Linked DNA regions of Homo sapiens: region 1 is linked to region 2. Evidence: promoter capture Hi-C in 16 types of primary human blood cells and fetal thymus (Javierre and others, 2016). All regions are on one chromosome and are shown on one strand. The core of a region is centred on a gene start or on the middle of the fragment in contact, and the rest is flanking DNA. Distances in the headings are between cores, read along the strand shown.

Evidence for each region. The method cuts DNA at HindIII sites, captures the fragments that hold promoters and counts their contacts. A CHiCAGO score of 5 or more calls a contact.
Region 1: a fragment that was not itself captured here is called in contact with the fragment with the promoter of RSPH3 in region 2 in 4 of 17 cell types (non-activated CD4 T cells, fetal thymus, total B cells and 1 more); the score reaches 6.1 in non-activated CD4 T cells.

Annotation. Positions count from the first base shown.
Region 1 is chr6:158,639,459-158,642,158 of GRCh38, reverse strand. It overlaps DYNLT1 (dynein light chain Tctex-type 1), which reads left to right. Exons shown (of 5, transcript NM_006519.4): 2 at 799-840. Among named protein-coding and RNA genes, the nearest start is that of DYNLT1, 3.9 kb to the left of the region's middle. The HindIII fragment of the contact is 3,851 bases long and covers 1-2,700 here.
Region 2 is chr6:158,998,898-159,001,857 of GRCh38, reverse strand. It overlaps RSPH3 (radial spoke head 3), which reads left to right and starts at 1,656. Exons shown (of 8, transcript NM_031924.8): 1 at 1,656-2,423. The coding sequence starts at 2,308. It overlaps TAGAP-AS1 (TAGAP antisense RNA 1), which reads right to left and starts at 1,985. Exons shown (of 5, transcript NR_183546.1): 1 at 1,466-1,985. RefSeq lists enhancers at 1,348-1,397, 970-1,941, 1,808-1,967, 2,138-2,207, 2,238-2,287 and 2 more. The HindIII fragment of the contact is 7,152 bases long and covers 383-2,960 here.

The sequences.
Region 1 (2,700 bases), core at 136-2,635, 360 kb after region 2:
ATAATTACCTGGAGATAATGTAATCATCGTACATTTTACAAGTAATGGTGCTTTAAAAAAATCTCCTCAAGGTCAAACTGATCCTCCTAATCAGTTTACATCATGGAAGAGAGAATTACATCTTAAATGGATTACTTCAGCAGCTTCAGTTAATTTATACAAAAATCAACCAACTCATTAAGCCTCTCTATTGGTTAATGATTCTAGCAGCCAGTTGAAATGGAAGAAGAGAATGAATTCTAGTTTAAAGTGAAGTCTTAGATTGTGGCATGATTAAAACAAAACAGGGCCAGGTGTGGTGGCTTACGCCTGTAATCCCAGCATTTTGGGAGGCTGAGGCGGGAGGATCACCTGAGGTCAGGAGTTCGAGACCAGCCTGGCCAACATGATGAAACCCCATCTCTACTAAAAATACGAAAATTAGCCGGGTGTGGTGGAGGGCACCTGTAATCCCAGCTACTTGGGAGGCTGAGGCAGGAGAATCACTTGAACCTGGGAGGCAGAGATTGCAGTGAGCTGAGATTGCGCCACTGCATTCCAGCCTGGGCTACAGAGCGACACTCCGTCTCAAAAATAAATAAATAAAAATAAAACAATACCTTTAAATTATGTGCATGTATTCTAGTCTTCTGGTTTCTGAAGACTGTAATGCCATCCTTGGTAAAGCTGAACAGTCTAGTTAGATTATTTCTAAGGTCTTCATTTCTACATTATGTTCATTACCTACATTTGCATTTATCAATGTAGTGGAAATATCTTTTAAATAAATCAAACTTAACTGAATGTTCTTCCTTACAGACTGCTTTTGTTGTTGATGAAGTGAGCAACATTGTAAAAGAGGTAAGAGGAGAAATGCTCACTTCTTAAATGTTTAATGGCTTATATTAGAGAAAATAATGTGTTTTAAATACTATCTTGGAATTGTTTCGACTGAGTCTGTGTGTTTTGGTGTTTCAAATAACAGTTTTTACTTCAGTAAATAGCTAGATAAGAGTTGCTTCTATATTATGTAAATTACATATTTTAAATCAGATAAGGAGTTTTATGTACATAGCATTATTACTGCATATCACCAAGATTTGATTCTATAATCTTTTAAGCATAAAAGAATCCTGGTATACAAATAAATGTCTCCAGGGTTGAATGAAGAAAGAGTGAGTATAAGAAAATTGAACAATCAATTTCCAGTTATTCTGGACCTAGTGATCCAGTTTGGGGCCTATTTGCTTACTTTTCTTACATTCCTAAATTTCACACTTTATTGTGTTGTTGATCATGAAGAGGAAGAGAGACAGAAGGGATGTTTGTTACTCATTCAGAAAGTACACACTGAGGGAGCGTGCAGGGCATAGACCCTTCTGGAGTTTACAGCTGAGGGGCAGGCAGGGCAGACACATCAAACAGTCCTGCTGGAAGGTGTCAGCCTGCATTTGCTGTGTGGTAAGTGCCACTAGTGGTGGTGCTGTGAGAGCACTGAACTGGGAATGTGACCCACCCAGGGAGTTCAGGGACCATTTCGAGCTGAAATCTGCAGAATGAGAAGTAGGGGTAATGCAGTAAAAAGAGGGGACAAGGCCCCCTGAGACTGGGAAGTGGGGGCAGTGCATGGTGTGTGAGGGAGTGAAAGGAGGTGGGTGTGGCTGGAGCGGTGCTGAGAGCTAGGGGCTCATTCCTACCTAGGGTAGGAATGAAGCCAGAAAGAGTTTTCCTCATCAGCTTCCCTGCCTTCCCTGGGTAAAATGGGGCACAGATACTAAAGCCATTGGCTAAAAGAAAACTATTAGATGATCTGAATTTAATGATACTGTTTGGGGTTTCAGATGTAATTTAGAATTTAATGTAAATTATTGACTAGTGTTTGATAAAAAACCGCAACCTATGTTTGTGATCAGTATCCAAAGGCAAAATGATTTTGTTTGACCATTTACATTGTTCAGCATCAGGAGTGACTTTCTGGTTGCTTTGCAGGATCTGTACGTTTGGTTTTCATGGTTTTTCTAAATACACAGTTTCACGTGGAACACAGCAGGGGGCAGGAAGGTGGGTGGATTACACCAGAACTGGGAACAGTGGAGGGGGCTTGTTGGGAAGTCTAGTTCTGCCGCAGTTGTTTTCTGCCTTATCTTTGACTTGGTTACCAGCTTTCAATTAGCAAGTGCAATTGAAAGTACACATTTCCATGCTGGGCGCGATGGCTCACACCTGTCATCCCAGCACATTGGGAGGCCGAGGTGGGCGGATCATGAGGTCAAGAGATCGAGACCATCCTGTCCAACATGGTGAAACCCCGTCTCTACTAAAAATACAAAAATAAGCCAGGCTTGGTGGCGCATGCCTGTAGTCCCAGCTCCTTGGGAGGCTGAGGCAGGAGAATCGCTTGAACCCGGGAGATGGAGGGTGCAGTAAGCCAAGATCACGCCACTGCAATCCAGTCTGGGCGACAGAGCAAGACTCTGTCTTAAAAAAACAAAACAAAACAAACACATTTCCAATCCACATGGAAACATGAGGTGACATTGCAGTGTTACTTGAACTTGTGTCACTGGCCTCAACAGCTTTTTTGCCGCCGCAATAGGTAATTCTGTACTCAAGTGACCCTAAATATTGGGTAGTAGTCAATTTGCGCAGGTCCAAAATTGGTGGAGGGTTCCCTCCTCCTTGAAAAACTGAATTTCAAAGTATGTGCGGAGGGAGAGCTGG
Region 2 (2,960 bases), core at 407-2,906:
GACGGGGTGGCACACGCCTGTAGTCCCAGCTACTCAGGAGGCTGAGGCAGGAGAACCACTTGAACCGGGGAGGCGGAGGTTGCAGTGAGCCAAGATCGCGCCACTGCACTCCAGCCTGGCCACAGAGCGAGACTCCATCTAAAAAAAAAAAAAAAGAAAGAAACTTGTACAAGAACCTATAGTGGCTATCAATTTCTTTATAAAGCCCACTGTGGCTGGTATAGCACTATTGTTTACCCACTTAATACCCACTCAATTCTGCCCCAACATCCTCCTAACAGAATTTGTTCTCCTCCTCCCTGGCCAAGTGTTTCTTGGAGGCCTAGAAAGACCGGTTACCTGGTCTAATCCAAATATGGTGGTCTTATATAGATCCTAAGCTTAAATCAATATGATGTAATTCTGGTCAGTTGGGAGTTTACGAGGGGGTTTTGCTCTTCCAATAAAGACAAAAGAGCAGATACTTCTATTACTACTTTGTTGAAGCCAACAACCCAGGTGACAGAGTGGAAAGGTAGGGGAAAAAACGTGTTGTTGATAATGTGCTGAGCCCCCAAGTTACCCTCCAGGTTAACCAACCTGGGGAGTGTAAAATAATGAATTCCTTATTATTTCAGCCACTTGGAATTGGTTTTTTGTTACTTGAGGGAAAAAATATTCTAATTAATATGCTAGTGTTTACTGTTTCCACGATGTGGTGTCAGCCTGTCTATATATATTTCTACAACTCATCTACACAAACCTTGCTTACAGTTTTCCAAATGCACCTTGGGCTTCTTGAGCCTTTGATCAAGCCATTCCGAATGCACTTCCCCCAAGAGGCTGGCCAGTTAAAATACTATCATTTATCAAACACAACTTAAATGTCACTTTCTCCTCTAGCCCTTTCAGAAATTACCTCAAAATTAAATGATCAGACCTAAAATATGTTGGGAGTGTTTTCACCTCTAGAATTTACCATACACCTTTATGCTAGTGTTACTTATAGAATGCCTACATCTGCTTTAGGTCATACACTTCAAAGCACAGAACGGTCCAGATCTTAATATAAAGGCTTGCCATTTACCAGGCACAGCTCTAAGTATTAACGGTTTTAATCCTCAAGACAAAACCTAAAGAGATAAATTCTTCTATTGCCACTTTGTGGATTAGGAAAATGAAGCACAAAAACATTTAACTTGCCTGAGGTTTCGGAGCTAGTACATTCTAGAACCTGGATTCAAATCAAGACAGCAATTAGCTGAATGAAGGTGTAACTGCAAATGCAAATAACTGATCACAAGGGATACACATTCACTCATACAAGATAGAAGATTTTTAACGTTGCTGGTACTAAAACCAAAGCGTCTGCGTTTTTAAGCGCAGCCCCACCCCGCAATACTAGAGACATTCTTTAGAGCTGGAAGCCTGATAGATTAAGGGGAACTATGCCTTTGTATTTTTTAAGACTCAATAAATTGCTCACTTCTTTCCCAAAATGAGGTGTCTGTGGGGGAGGCCCCTGTCGCTCCGTGTGCCAAGGGTCCTCCGATTGCTAGCACACAGCGGTGAGCAGAGAAGGTAGGTGAGGAACTGCACTGACTCAGCTGCAGAGGGCGGCGGCAGCCCGCCCCTGGGGCGGGAGAAGGGCAGGAGCCGGGAGACACCAGGAAGCTCTTCCCCGCCCGGGCACGTAACAGAGCTGGGAGCCTGGCTGCCAGGGGCGTGTTATCGCGGGGGCAGCCTGGGAGCGCTGCTGCGCCGCGGCAGGAGAAACAGCCGAGGACACCCTGGAAGAGCAGGAGCACGTGGGCCTGCGAGAATGGCGCCAACACCAGCCCTGCAAAGCCACATTCCAAAGCCGGGCCAAGGACAGCCACCGTTGCCCCGCAGGCCTCAAGGATGACGGTCAAGCCAGCCAAGGCCGCCTCCCTAGCCAGGAACCTCGCAAAGCGCAGGCGCACCTACCTGGGTGGCGCGGCTGGGCGGAGTCAAGAGCCGGAAGTCCCTTGTGCCGCAGTCCTTCCCGGGAAACCTGGGGACCGGAACTGCCCGGAGTTCCCGCCCCCAGACAGAACCCTGGGTTGCTGGGCAACCGATGCGGCCCCCGCAGCTGGTCTCTGTGGTGCTGGGAGCGAGCCCAGTATAGCTCCCACCTCCTGCGCTGGTAACCTCCCGTCCCGCCCGCCTCCCTTGTTGTCGCCTCTCCTCGCGTCGCGGAATCCTTGCCCTTGGCACTACTTACATCTCTCCGGGTCCCACAACACCTTAGCGCCCACCTGCTTCAAAGCCAAGCTCCACCGAAAGCGAGGCAGTCAGCCCCCGGACATGGCCTCAGCGCTGACTGATCGCACCTCTCGGGCCCCGAGCACCTACACCTACACCAGCCGGCCCCGAGCACTGCCCTGCCAGCGCAGCCGTTACCGGGACAGCCTGACGCAGCCGTGAGTGACCAAGCCAGCCCCTGTGTGGTCCATACTTGCACCCCATCCCCAGGCCGGGGTCTGGCCCCTTCGCCCTGGCAAAAAAGCTGCTTATGCTGTCTTCCCTTGGCTGCACTCTGCCGAAATAAAAGTTCTGCCCTAAGGAATCTCCCGTGGTGTGGAGGAGTGAAGCAGGAAGGGGCATGGGTTGGGCATCAGTTAACTTTTAGTGATATGAGTTGCTGCCGTGGTCCTTAACATGTACACGAATTGGCTCATTTCACAAAGTTTGAATTGTACCAGTGTGTATTGAGGGCCAACTACGTGCTGAGCACCTTACGGGGGGCATTCAAATACGTTTTCTTAGTTAATCCACAGTGCTGTGAAGTTGATTTTATAACTCCATTATGCAGATGAGGAGACCGCGGTGCAAAGATATCCAACAGTAGCATATCCAAAATGGGAGCCGAGTAAATCTCTTCGGCAGGCTTTGAGCAGGAGTAAGATTATTCTTCCATGCAGGACCACAGATTGGTTTTTTGTGGTGGTGGTGGTGGT